2 separate regions of the Homo sapiens genome follow, and region 1 is linked to region 2. The links are contacts of gene promoters, found by promoter capture Hi-C in human tissues and cell types (Jung and others, 2019). All regions are on one chromosome and are shown on one strand. The core of a region is centred on a gene start or on the middle of the fragment in contact, and the rest is flanking DNA. Distances in the headings are between cores, read along the strand shown. Region 1 overlaps FAF1 (Fas associated factor 1). Region 2 holds the start of DMRTA2 (DMRT like family A2).

What was found. The method cuts DNA at HindIII sites, captures the fragments that hold promoters and counts their contacts. A contact is called where the count stands out against the background at its distance.
Region 1: a contact is called between a fragment that was not itself captured here and the fragment with the promoter of DMRTA2 in region 2, in 1 of the 25 tissues and cell types used here (IMR-90 fibroblasts).

What each region holds. Positions count from the first base shown.
Region 1 is chr1:50,697,191-50,704,051 of GRCh38, reverse strand. The region is part of intron 7 of FAF1 (Fas associated factor 1); the gene reads left to right. Among named protein-coding and RNA genes, the nearest start is that of FAF1-AS1, 260 kb to the right of the region's middle. RefSeq lists enhancers at 3,142-3,806, 3,807-4,472, 2,938-4,529. The HindIII fragment of the contact is 3,610 bases long and covers 589-4,198 here.
Region 2 is chr1:50,419,239-50,426,558 of GRCh38, reverse strand. It overlaps DMRTA2 (DMRT like family A2), which reads left to right and starts at 3,116. Exons shown (of 3, transcript NM_032110.3): 1 at 3,116-3,443; 2 at 5,015-5,581; 3 at 6,825-7,320. The coding sequence starts at 5,023. It overlaps LOC105378714 (a long non-coding RNA gene), which reads right to left and starts at 3,013. Exons shown (of 3, transcript XR_947325.3): 1 at 2,662-3,013; 2 at 1,958-2,121; 3 at 1,687-1,719. RefSeq lists enhancers at 1-109, 4,821-5,320, 6,556-7,320 and a silencer at 1,934-1,993. The HindIII fragment of the contact is 21,358 bases long and covers 1-5,507 here.

The DNA.
Region 1 (6,861 bases), core at 1,144-3,643, 280 kb before region 2:
AAGACATAAAATATTCATTAATGTTCGGTGATTATAAAGTAGTGGCATATATTTATTTTGCCTTTATTACTGTTTCGATGGGAAAATACTGCAAATATTTCCGAAATCGAGTTGGCCATACTGACAAGTTGAAATGTTTAAGCAGCGTTAATGCAATCTGCTCACACCTGATATCCTATGCAGAATGATTCAAAATGACTACATCAATTATTAAAAGAAATATTTAAAATTCTGTAAATGTGCCATTGTGTGCCACAGTTGGCTGAAACTGTTCTCCGTGGCCTGCTATGTAGATTATCAAATATATCTTAAGCTTCAAGGACTTAAAACAGTAAATCTTTTTTATACCATTTTCTAAATGTCATTTTAAAAATGTTCCAGAAATATTTTTGCAAAGACAGATATTCTTATGTATTTCTTGTCAAGAATTTGGTTTCTTCTCCTTTTTCCTTTTTTTCCCTTTAAGTTAATTTAAAATAATATTTTTAAATGCTAGTTTGCCAGGAACAAATAAATGCAGTTGCTACTTATGTCACTTGCTTCTCTGTGAGTAGACAGGTACACATAGGCTGTTTTATTCTGTACAACTTAGATAAAGGATGTGGGACCTCTCTGGGCCTAGTTCTGTGACTTTTCTGCTTCAACTTGTGCAACACCTGTGATGGAGGGGGTAGTTTCAGGTGAAGGACAAGGTGCCCTTATCTACAGCTATTCAATCCACAATGACACTTAAGTATGTACATTTTTTCTTGTTGCATGATTGGAAAGTTAGTTTGATTGCATCAAGATAAAAATATAATTGTGAAACTATTTTGTAGTTTTATTTTATAATGCTAGTATTTGTCTTTTATTAATGTGAAAGCTTAATGATACCATATGTGCTAAATTGTAAATTAATCTATCTCACCAGTTTCAGGAATTTCTTTTCAGTATTAATAGGTCCAAGAATAAATCCTGACTAATATAATTGAGGGAAAGGAAAAAATGTTCAAAACACAAAGGTTCCTGGTCATTTTTTTAGTGTATTTTATATATATATTTTTTTTAATTTTTGAAAGCCTTGCATTTTTAAAAGAAAACTTTGCACTATTTTTCACCCAGAGGGAAATTTCTATTAAATGAAACAGGATTGAAAAAGGCACTATGATTTCAACTTTTAATTAGAACAAAGTACATTTTTTTAAAATACTGAGTTAGAAAATAGAACTAAAATGCAGTTTGAATTTCAAATAAACTATTCAATGACCATATGGTCATTGCAAGTTAATGGTGATAAACCAAGAGTTGTACAAGTGTTTGTTCATTCTGGCTTTGTGGTCTGCTGCCTCACAATGCGTGACTTGTGTCCTTTAGGTGCTCTAGATTTTAATTTAAGCCAGTTAGTTATTGAGGGTTTTCATTTTGATTTTGTTTTTTTAAAACTCTGTACAAATCCTTCCAGTTACATTATCCTCCTGGTTGGGGAGAAAGCAGTGACAGTATAAAAAGGTCAGAATGGAGAGAGTTGCAAGTAGTCTTAAAGACGAAAAATCTTTTCTGTTTTCCATTATGACCAAACAGCTTGTAAAAAATATCAAAGAATGTGACAGTAACTCTGTGATAGTCTGTCTTTTCAACCTTTTTGGGTCCTAAATTAACTATTTGTCACACTTTAAAATTGTGAGTTTCCTTAAATTTAAACAGGCTTACCTTATTTTAATGAATTTTTTTTACGCTGAGAATTCAGATTTGTCAACAGTTTATTGTGCAGATTCTAGTAATTCTCACTAATACTATTAAAGATCTGTGGTTACAAATGCACTTGGGGTGGGTTAAATTAAGGGGAAAAAAGATTGATTTGCTTTCAGCAAATCCAAAACCCAGGTGTGGAAAAGGATATGAAGTCTCTGAAATCAAGCCAACTTTTCTTGGAAACTGATTCTTTGTTATCGGCCTTACTACTGCAGAAGCTTCTGTTAGGCAAAATATTGTTTTCTTTGTAGATGTCATATAAATTTAAGGAATATACACATGACCCAGAATAACAATAAGAAACCTAAGTATTTTTAGTGCAGAATTATGGAGTATTACTTATCTGTTACAACAAGAAGCATGATGAATAGCTATTGGAATTATTTAAATCCTCTTCCAAGTTTCACTTTACCTCAGAAATCTCACTGTTCTTATTATTGTTGATTTAGTTCTTAATGGCATGAAAGGGGAAAATTGGCAACCTATAAAGATATATCTTGCAGGGAGTAGTAAAACATTTCAGTACTATTACAGTTTGTACAAAGTAGTGATTAAATGGGAAGCCAATAGAGTTGAATAAGTCTCAGGAACTGAATGAACTAAATACACAGATTATACCAATCCTTAAAAATAATCTGGGCTAAATAATGATAAGGCTAACTCTGATTCTGAGCATTTGAACCTAACGTCGGATTTTGTATGTTGTGTCTATTATTCTACTTGCTACTTTCTTAACTTGCTTGACTAGCGTATATTTTGGACTATTCTCCTTTAATGCTGGTGGCCAGTAACAGTAATTAAAATATGTAGTCTTTCACAGATTGTGCTAATTATTGATGTTCTAGTAGTGGGTTGACTATAACTCCTTAACTAACATGGCCTTTCTGTAAATGTTTTAAAGTATTGGGTGTTTTTTTTGGTTTGTTTGTTTTGTTTTCCAGTATGGGGAGGGTTGGGGTTGCTGGCACAGAACTGAAGTAAGAGTAGGGTAACTGAGAATGTGCATATGCAAGAGGGTAAATTAAGTTGTGTGCTTATTTAATTAAAAGTGTAAGTGGTTTGTTTTTACTGCAAGATAAATGGCATATATTGGATCAATTAGAATGAACCAATTTAATTAACATATATTATAGTTTGATTTTTTAAAATTTGAAATCACGAATGACATTTTAGCAAGAATGAAAGAGATAATTTCTTCTGCAACTGGGCAGTGAATTCAAGCCTTTATTCAGCTTTCAGAAAAGACGATTATGCATCTTTTAAATATGCATATATATTATTAGTTTCAAGTTGCATTTGAAAACTGAGATCTGTTGAAATCATACCACTTCAAATGAATATAAATCAGTAGGGATCATTTTATAAATATTGAGGTTTCCTGTGATTCTTAACAAATTATCCCCTGAAGTAATAAATTTAATATTTATAATGCAGCTCTTTGGAACTGACAAGTCTTTTCCCCTCTCTGGAACTATTTTAGAATAATCTGGATTGGATATCTTTTTTGGCCCATATAAGTATTTGTCTACCTGCATTTCAAGACGATAGAAGCAATGACATTTTAAGAATTAAGAACAGTCTTTAGCCTTTTGTTACTTAAGATATGTGTATCAAACATGATAGCTGACCACATTTCATCATCTGTGATTTATGTGTTGGTAGTTTTGAAATGCCTGGGTTAAGAGAAATTCCGTTCAGTTATCAGAAACTAATAAACATAAGATTTTTTTATATGCAAGAAAAGGCAGAGAGTAAATAATTGCACTGGTGACCAATACTGTAATAATCCTGTTTTACAATATGCACTTGACAGGTTGTAATAGTGCTAATTGAAGAGACTAATTCACACTTGCTTCATTCTATTCAAAGGCAAAATCAGCAGCTTGTTTTGCTTTTGACCAGATGGTCCTCATGAACACCTACTGTGCACTTTAAGTGCTTTACTAGAATTACAAAGGCCGGGGGCTGCGTTCGACTCCAAATGATTTGAGAAGAGAGAGAGAGAGGGGGGAAAAGAACCTCTGTGCTCAATGGATTTGGTGCAAGTAAATTAATTCTAGTGGACCCATTACACACAGCCCCCTTTTCAAAGCTCTGAGCCTCCTCGCTTGCTCTGTAGCAATGAGAAAGAGAAAGGCAGATTACTGCAAACAGAAATAAAAAAAAAAAGGGGGGTATGAAAGGGAGAAAAGAGGCCTTGAAGCCTTTCATATCATTTGAGTTTTTCAAGTGCGTTATTTTTGGGGAGGGTGGATGTATGAAAAGCCAATTGGAGTTTTTTTTGTTTTAAAGTGCGCTATTTAAGCACCATGAATATAGGCGCAAGAGCAACAGTTGACTGAGTTTACTGTGGTGAAGCTTTGTGTCCGAGGATGAATCAAATTCATTATATTCAACTCTTTGTGTTTTAACATGAATGTAGGGTTAGTTTCACAAGACTGTGTCTGTTTAGGATAATTATAATTTAATATTTTCCTTTCATAAAGTTATCACTGTAGATGTCTAAAATTTTAATCAAAGCAGATTTTGTACATTGACTTTGAAGCACCCTGACAGTTTAAAATTCAAAGGAAAGCTTTTTTAGTTTTCAAAAGAAAAGGAAGGCTCATTCTAATGGCATTGAAGCAGAGATTATTATAACTAATTAGAAGTCACACATCTGTTAGCTTTTGGTTTCTGACTTACTTATGTATTTTTTGAGTAAAATATATACTTTAAAAATATATTGCTGTTATTGTGTGAACCTAAAGGGATAAAATGCACTTAAAAGAGAACCATTTATTTGAGCCAACCATTTTTTGCAAATCTCTAGATGGTCCTATAAAAATATGTAATGTAATAAAGTACATTAAGTGTGAATTGCAGTTGTATAATTAATAATCTTACTTTGGAATATGCTTTCAAACAATATTTTCACACAGTTCTGTTGTCATAATTCTGATTATTAACCAAAGTTATGAGATTAAAAAAACCTGTCCAGTTTGTACAAATTTATAGTTATTCCTTATCCTTAAAGCTGTTCATGTATAGTACTGTAATTTGGAATACTAAGACTGTGAAATAATTAGTTCTTATTGTAAACTATGTGGGTTAGGATACAAGGAATCAAATTTAGGAATATACATCACCTGCTTTTTATGTTTTTGTAGTTCTAAATTTAATTCTTGTGATATATTTTAGTGGCATTGTTTACTTTTGTTTGATGGCATATATTACCGCCACCATGTTCATTTTAATTTTAATTATAGCTATTATCAAAGAATACAACAAAATCATACCAATAGTTCATCATGATAATTGTAAATGTTTCATAGTCTTCTTAAAGTTTGTATCGTCTCTTCAAATTAATGTCTAGAATTTATATTTTAAAAGGCATATTGCATCAATAAGCTTTTTATGTCAATAAGTTTTAATTACATTTTTAGAAAATAAAACACAGAAATGCACAAGCAACCCCAAAAATCTTTTTTATTTCTTAAAGACTTCATTTAAGAAGGTAGCATGCCTTTTATATATTTAAAATAAAATTTGATTCATATTAATGTACTCATACTTTGGGAGTGCTCATTGAAATGTAAGTTATAGGGTGAGGAGGGATATAAGGAGAATTCCCAAACCTTCCACCAGCAAAATATACAATGAAATTTGTAAGTAATGAGGCATTAATGAATTGATATCCTTGGGGAGAAAAACATTTCAAGAAAAAATATGAAAGATTAAGAAAAACTCACTGCAAAAAATTTTTTGCAGCAGACCATTTAAAATAAAGGTAAAGGTACTAGATTTCTTTCTTGTAGGTACAATAAAAAGCTATCTTTAAAGGCAGAACCTCAGTTAGCAGAAGTGGATTGATCATGACCATGTAGTCACTTACTTAGATGGGGCTGATTCTTTGGTTTCACAGAGACAGTGCTCCTCATGCATGAAGAAGAGGTTTTTCTTTTTCAGTATTAAAATATTAACTCCTAGATTCCTGAATGCCAGAGACAAGGTTATTTTCCTAGGGTATGTGTTGGGAAAGGCTATAATTTCTTCATAGATGTGGTAAGTACCACATTACTTAAGCTGAGAACTATTTTAATGTTTAACTATCTTCTAGTCCTAAGATAAGAAATAGTAACCAACCTCTTCATTCCTCCCCAACCCTCTGTAAAACAAACACACACACACACACAAGAAATTAAACCAAAGGATGGGTAAGTGAATATAAAGTGCTCATAAATATAAGCTGGACCAAGACTTGGCATATTAAGATAAGGCCTGCATGTAGAAAATTATTTACATGTTTATCTTTATATGCCAAAGGTTATTTGGTTACAACCTCTTCAAATATCTGGTTATGGTAATTTTTCTTTTGTCTAATGTGTCTTGTGTATGACTCAGTGTTATACAGTTAAGGAGTTTTTCTTTTTCAAACATACTTTTTGTGATAAATATTCTTTTAAAAAATCCTGCTGCTCAATATAGGGCTATAGTATAGTACCTTATTACCCTCAATGTACTCCTATTATTATTTTGAAAAACTTTTTTTTTAGAGAAAAAAGATTTTAAAAGCTTGTAGTAAACATTTTATATAAATGACAAAATGTATTCCTTGCTTTGTGGTCATTGCGTGACCAGACAGTAGAGTACTGGATTGTTCTAGGGTTTTACAGCTGCAAGGCAAAAGCATCTGCTCATTGCAAAGCCGGCATTGTTTAATTTTGACACTGACTTTTCCATGAGTCTTGTACCAAGCACTGGATTAGATGCCACTAAGATGAAATTTGTTTTAAGTTGCTCCCAAAGTGCAGCTGTTCCTATATACGGCCCTGTAGCTTAACCAAAACAGACAGACATAGGATCAATCAGAATCTTTGTACAGGGTCACCTCAGTATGCTAGGGGGGCCCAGAGAGAGAATGTTAATGATATTATTTATCATGAATAACTGCAAAATTAGTTTCTGGGCTTATTTAATGTCTATAGTACAGCCCCCCACCTTTTAAAAGCAATAGAACTGTTATTAAATATTTAGCTTTTTAAACTGGATTATCATGGCTAAGTATTAGAGTGTCCCTGTATGCATTAGGCACTATTCTTCCACAATCAATTGCAAGAAAAATTAGTTTATTGGTCACTAAAGTAGTGA
Region 2 (7,320 bases), core at 1,867-4,366:
CCGCGCATAAACCAGGGCATACCTGCGTAAGAATGTGCTCCTGTCGGCGTGTGCTATCACCGAGGTGGAAATCTGTGGGAGTCTGGGAATGTCACACACCAAGTGGATGGCCCAGGATGGGGACATGCTTATAAGAACACTGTGAGGTCAAACTCACTGAAGGGGTCCCCTTGAGCCGGAGGGTAGCATCAGAGTTGAGCCTGGGCCCGGTGGTGCTCTCTGAATGCTGGCGTGAGAGTGTGTCCCAAACTTTGCAGAGAGTGGTCACACGCACGTGGGAGGGGGTGTGTCCAAGTGTGAAGCTACACTCAGGTTGGGAAGGGGGTAGACCCTGCTGCCTCAACCTGGGCGTGCTCTACTAGTGCTGGTGGCTCAGTTGGGCCATGCCCTTGCTTTCCCCTCCGACCAACCCAATCCAAATCAGGAGGAACTGGCCCTGGAGCGGCCTGGGAAGCTGGGCAGAGGATATCCTGCCCTGTCGAAGTGTGGGTGAGATGACCTTGGGTTTATTTGCCCTCCCTCCATAACGGGTTTATTTTGCCTCCCTCCATAACACATTCACTCACATGAACACCCTAACCTCCGGGGAGTGGGAGAAAAGGCTGTGGGTCTCAGACCTGTGGGGATGTGAATGCCAGAAAAGAGGAGCGAGAGAAGAGTGAGATGCCGCCACTAGGGGTTGGGCGGATTCCCTCTGGTTGGGCTGTGTTAGATGCCAGGATGCTCCTCCTCCCACTCCTGAGAAAATGAAGTTCCTCACGCATCTGCTGGGCCGCCTCGGGTTCCCGAGTCCTCGTGGCTACACCCTTGGCTTCTGCGGGATCCCCGGTCCGGAGTGGGGAAATCTCACGGTGACCTGGCCTCAAGCGAGAAGGATACCTGGGCCACCGCCCCCTCAAAAGCTAGGCAGATTTGTATAGTTTATTTCGTTTTCGGTTTAATAGAATTTCCCGAAAACTTTGTCCAAAGGAGCTCTGGGAGCAGGCGCCTGGCGGCCCCTGCGCGGAATCCGGCGGTTGTCGGCGCTCTTCCCCCGACCCCATGGCTCACCTACCCAGGTGCAGCCGGGGCTAGACATACTTGGCCTCGGAACCTCCAGGTGTTGGAAGGTGGGGTCTGGGTCCTGCGCTCCTAGAGGACATATTATCCCTGAAGCACTCCCTTATCCTCACTTCACGCGGGAGACCCTCGCGGGGGCTGACACCCTTCTCTCTCCTAAACCCATTCACAGACTCCAGCAAGTGGCATTTTCTGGGAGCGAGTAACCAGCTTTTTATCGCTATCATAGACCTTGTCCGTGTCGGAGCGCCCTCGCGCCGGGGCCTGGTGAACTTTCTGGAAGCTCTCCGCCCGGTCCTCCAGCGAATCACCCCCACCCACTCCTCCCTCCAGCCTCAGCCTCCCGGTGGGCATCTTCCAGGGCTCTTCCGGGGCGCCAGGTTCTGCGGTCTTCGGGTGGGGGCCCGTTAGTCGCACCGTCCTTCCCCCACCCCCATTCCTGGGCTCAGAAGCTGATAGACTGACAAGACGCGGCCCAGTAGTCGTGCCAGGCGGAATGGGCTGCGTCCTGAGGCCGCGACGACCCGGGCCGAGTCTGCGCGCCCAGATTCCCGCCGGCCTGGAGGTTCGAAAGAGCAACGCAGAGACGCACGGTCAAGAGTGGAGGGAGAACGACAGGAACGCTCATTTTCCTCATTATTTAAACGAATTTTCTTTATTCTGAAGGAGAGAGAGAAAAGTAGAGAACAAAAACGAGAGTGACAGAACATTAGAAATTAGAGGGAAAAACAGAATTAGAGGGAAAAACAGAACTTTAGAAATTAGAGGGGAAAAGACACAGAGATAAAATCAGAGCTACAGAAACCGAGGGCGACTCGCCCGAGGGCCGCGGCATTAATTCCAGATGTTTGAAAGGCAACAGCCTTTCAAAAAGGAAACAAAATCTGAAACCTGTTACCTCTTCTGCAGAACGAGCTGTTCCTCAGGGCCGTGACATCAAGACAAGACGAGAATAAGGCGAAAGTTAAAACTGAAAACTGTCCGAGGGGGCCTCCCAGCAGTGACTTTGTCTCTTGCCGGGAAGGTCGGACAGACCGATGCGCGTCCTGAGTTTAAGAGAATCTGCGGAGACACAGAGGCCACTTTTTACTTTCGTTTAGAAAAGAAAAAAAAAGGGGGGGGGGCTATTTGTTCATTTGCAATAACGACAAAAAGAATCCCACCACCACGGAAAAGAAATCGAGATGCTGAAAAGTGAGGAAAAGAGAGCTCAAAAGGGGCTGAGGGACGCGAAAAGAGGGGCGGGGAGAGGAAAGGCTCAGGGCGCGAGGGACGTGGCGGGCACCGACAGGAAGTGCAATCTCATTTCTCTTCGCTGAGCTTCTCTTTAAACACGAAAATCTTCATAAACCACACTTACCCTCCAGGATGACTATCGTATCAGGACTTTTAAAATAAAGTAACTGAGCTTTAAGGAGACAGGAGGAAAAAACCAAAGCAGCCCCCAACTACCCCAAACTCGTCGGATTTGGGAGCGCGCCGAAACATAGCAGGAAGAAGGCAGGAAAAATCGTCCTGGCATTTATGCCTTGAACACCCTCCCTTCCCCACCCCCGCACCCTTGTCCCGCCCCTACCCCGACCGCAGTAATTGAATTGTCACCTGCCCCCCATCCCGCCTCAGGGCTCCAGAGCCACTTGGGAAGCTCGGCTTTGCCAAGCGCCCCAGGCCAGTAAGAGCGGTGCAGCCGAGCCGGCGCCCCAGAAGCCGAGAGGTTACACAAGTCTACGCAGAGAGGCGCACCGGACACGGTAATTAGGAGCAATTCACACGCTCTCGGGCGCACGGAAACTACTTGTCAGGAAATTTTCAACGCTCCTCCTCGCCCACTTTTTTCCACTCCTTTCCTGGCGCGCCCCCTCCCCTCCCAGAGGCACGCAGTGGAGCTTTTGGAGTTTCGAATCTTTCGGACACTGCAGAATGCGGGGCTCCCCGGGCGCGGGCCCGGCCAATCAGAGCGCCGTCTGCCTCCCCTGGCCAATGGCAGGCGCCACATTGTTGTCCAATTCTGTCTAATGGAGCCCTAAGGACCAACAATAGAGCGGGCGAGCGGCTCATTGAGAGTCTGGCAGCGCCGGGCAACTGGGCCCCGGCTGCGCGCAGCGTCCGGCGCGCACCGCGAGGGGACCCGGCACGGCGAGAGTCAGGTCGCGGGTTCCAACCACGCGGCCCGCAGACGAGCCTCCGACCCGGATTTCTGAAGGGAGGGTTGGACTGCGCTGCGTTCTGAGGGGTCCGGAAGTTCGGACATGGTGACTGAAGGAGGGTGACGTGGTCAGATAAGGGGCCGGGGGCAAAGGGAAGCGGCCAAGAGCTCCAGCGTCGCCAGTGGAGCCGGGAGGCGCGTGCAGCGCCAGCGGAGGAGGAGGATCCCGGAGCCCAAGGCAGGTAGTTGAGGGCCGCAGGGAGAGCAGTGGGTGGAGACCTGGTCTGCGGCCCCTGTTGAGGAGGCCTGGGCCCCGTGGGCCTTAGGGACGCCCGAAGGGTCTGGGAGAGGAGGCAACGCTCATAGAGAGGAGGTCTGGGACTCTCGGACGGAGACACAAGGACTCTGTCGCGGGCTCTGGCAGGGACGGGGAACGCGGGAAGCAGAGGAGACCGCGGCAGAAGCGGGGAGCTGGGCCTGCTTGGGCCTTATGGGGCTGCGGCGTGGGAGGGACTCTGGTGTCCGTTTATGGCCAGTTGCGAAGGCGACTCCCCTGGCTTGGTGCGGCCTGCTGGGCCATCCGTGTCCTAGGACCCCAACTCTGAGATCAGAACGCAGGAGCCTGCGCTCGAGAGGGGTCCCCTGGGACCCCAAGACGGGGAGGGCGTGTCTGACGACTCTGTCCCTAAACCCGGAGGGGAGGGGAGGGCAGTGTGAGGTGGTCTTCGAGAAAGATCCCCCTCCCGAAATGCCTAACTTTTCGCAGGATACGTCTTCCGCCCCGACTACTACTCCAGACTGCGAAGCTAAAAAACTGCACCACAGGTTTTACCCAATCCCCTCCCCCAGCATTTGCCTGTGGGGTTTTTTCTTACACATTCCCCTCTCCCAGGCGCGGCCCCTGGATCCCGGACACCCAGATCAGCTGCTTTTCACTGTTTTCCTTGCCCATGAAGCTCATCTTTGGGCTGGGTTTGCCTATACAGAAAGTTTCTTTGGCCGAATTTTTCTCTTTAATACTTCCCAGTCCTAAGCTAAATTCCACATACATTTTGTCTCTCACTCTCTGGAGGCCCTCACCGTGGAACTTTTGGCGCTCACATTTTTACGGGTCCCAGAGCCACTGGGCCTAACTTTGCCCAAGTTGTTTCCTCGTCCTCACTCTGCTTCCTAAAGCTATTCTTTCTGTTGTTGATTTTTCTCTCCAAAGCTTCTGCCCCAAACTGCATTAAAAATAAACAAACAAAAAGAAACAAAACTCCGGCCCAACCGGCCTTCACATCTGCGCCTTCACATCTCTCTCCTCTTCACCCTTCCACCAAACTGACCGTTTTGCTCCGGGTTTTCCTGTTTTGCCCTTGGCATCAGCCTAACTTCTGGGCCAAAACTGTCGCTCTAATCCCAGTCCCGTCAAACGAGCATTTCTCTCACCCGTCTCACCCCAATTAGGCTAAGCTTTGGGGTATCATCTTAACTTTTCCAAATTCTCATTACAGCCATCTGAATCAGTGACTTTCACACTTTACATGTCTCTTTATTTTTTCCAGCGGAATCACTAATTCAGACAAAATCTTACCCCTAGCGTGTATATCAGGTCTAAGAGCAGCCATGGCCAGACTGGGGTGAAGGTGCTAGGGCTCACAAGGAGGTTCCGACTGCACCTCCTCCCAGCAATTCTGGCCCCTCTAGCCCAGCCTCCGCGGCCCAAATTTCCCTCTCCAGCTTGGGTTCCTCAAGGCGGCGCTTTGGCCTAGCGCGCGGTGTGCTCCTCACCAGGTCTCTCCCCTCTCCCACCTTCTTTCCCGTCAGGTCCTGTCATGGAGCTGCGCTCGGAGCTGCCCAGCGTGCCCGGCGCGGCGACGGCGGCGGCGGCAACAGCGACGGGGCCGCCTGTGGCGTCGGTGGCGTCGGTGGCGGCAGCCGCGGCGGCCGCTGCATCGCTACCGGTGAGCGTGGCAGGCGGCTTGCTGCGGGGGCCGCCACTGTTGCTGCGGGCAGCCGAGAAGTACCCGCGGACCCCCAAGTGCGCGCGCTGTCGCAACCATGGCGTGGTGTCGGCCCTCAAGGGCCACAAACGCTACTGTCGCTGGAAGGACTGCCTGTGCGCCAAGTGCACGCTCATCGCGGAGCGCCAGCGTGTCATGGCGGCGCAGGTGGCGCTGCGCAGGCAGCAGGCGCAGGAGGAGAACGAGGCGCGCGAGCTGCAGCTGCTCTACGGCACTGCCGAGGGGCTGGCGCTGGCCGCCGCCAACGGCATCATCCCCCCGAGGCCCGCCTACGAGGTCTTCGGTTCAGTGTGCGCCGCCGACGGCGGGGGACCTGGAGCGGGAGCGCCCGCGGGGACCGGAGGCGGAGCAGCTGGCGCAGGGGGCTCAGGTGAGAGCGCGGCCAGGCCGCAGGTAGGGGCAGCAGGATCGTAGCTCTGGGGCACGGGGCCCAGGGGCTTGTCTCGGTTCAGAAAGAGTAGAACCCCCGTGTCCAGTCGCCGCGACTGCTAGGGTTCACCGCTCGCCCAGCCTCGGGTATGGAGCGTGGGTACAGAAACTCTCCTTTCTCCCGCTTCTGGAGCATTTGCACTTTACCCCTTTCTCCTGCATCGGGCCGAAATGTACACGCTTTAATTTTTTTACTCGCCTCTACCCAAACGCAGGCAGGTCCCTGCTTCTTTGCTTCGTCTTCTCCCCAGGTGGAAACCTGCGCATCTTCGTTCGCTCTGCGCTTCTCCACAGGCCCTTTCCCTCTGCTCCTTCCCAACTCCCTTAAGGAATCCCCCCCCCTTTAACTGACACCCTAGGTTTTGAGACGCCCTAGGTTCTGAGACGCCCTAGTTTCTTTTCCCCTTCTCGCGTTCCTAACGCCCTCTGGACAACCGCTTGCTGCGCCCTCCCTCCTTCTAGTTTCTTCCGCACCCTCCCTGGTTTCTCAGGTCTGCTTTCCTATGTCTTTTCCTCTTCGCTTCCTACTGCCTGCCTAGCACCACCCTCTTTTTCTGGACCCCCGTGGCTTTTTGTGGGGAGGGAAGAAATTAGGCCAGAGCCGTTGAGGGAAAGGAGGGATCCGCTCTAAACTTGGGAGGGAAGAACTTCTCAGGTCTCAATTTTGGAAAGGGTGGATTAGAAACAGGGGCTGTACTTCTGCCTGTAGAGAAGCTTGGGACCTCCTAGATAACCAAGGCGCCTTTCCTTACAGGCTGCACTGCCAGGGCAGGCATTTTCTATACAGTGGGCTCTTCTGTACAGCGTGGTTAGGCAGAAGTTATGTTGTCTCTTGTTTGAACCCTGGACCTGGCCACTTCTCCACGGCAGGGCAGGACTGGAAGGGCAGTTAAGGGTGGAGGTGTTGGGGCACAGACGTGGGGAAAGCAGCACTGAACATCGAGTTTACAGGGCACAGGTAGTTGGGGTTCTGAGGAGTACAGAAAGAGAGGGAGCCCTGGGGTCAGGGCTGTAGGGGCTCAGAGCGGAAGGAATGCTAGAGCAAAAAGAAAGAGGGGCACTGGAGCCTAGTGAATAAGGGCTGTGGGGCTGAGGGAGAGGAAACTGAGATCCAAAGGGCCGAGGTGCTGTGACTGCTGTCTTCTAGCTAACCGCTCCTCACGACACGTTTTCTCCCCTCCCAGAGGCCAAGTTGCAGAAGTTTGACCTGTTTCCTAAGACGCTGCTGCAGGCAGGCCGCCCGGGCAGCCCGCTGCCGCCGCCGGTGAAGCCCTTATCACCCGACGGCGCAGACTCGGGGCCCGGGACGTCGTCCCCAGAGGTGCGGCCCGGCTCAGGCTCGGAGAACGGCGATGGCGAGTCCTTTTCTGGTTCGCCCCTAGCTCGGGCCTCCAAAGAGGCAGGTGGCAGCTGCCCAGGCAGCGCTGGCCCTGGCGGCGGCGGCGAGGAGGACAGCCCGGGCTCCGCTAGCCCTCTGGGCTCTGAATCCGGTTCAGAGGCTGACAAAGAAGAGGGTGAGGCCGCGCCGGCGCCAGGGCTGGGCGGAGGCTCGGGTCCACGGCAGCGGACGCCGCTGGATATCTTGACACGCGTGTTCCCAGGCCACCGGCGAGGCGTCCTGGAGCTGGTGTTGCAGGGCTGCGGCGGCGACGTGGTGCAGGCCATCGAGCAGGTGCTGAA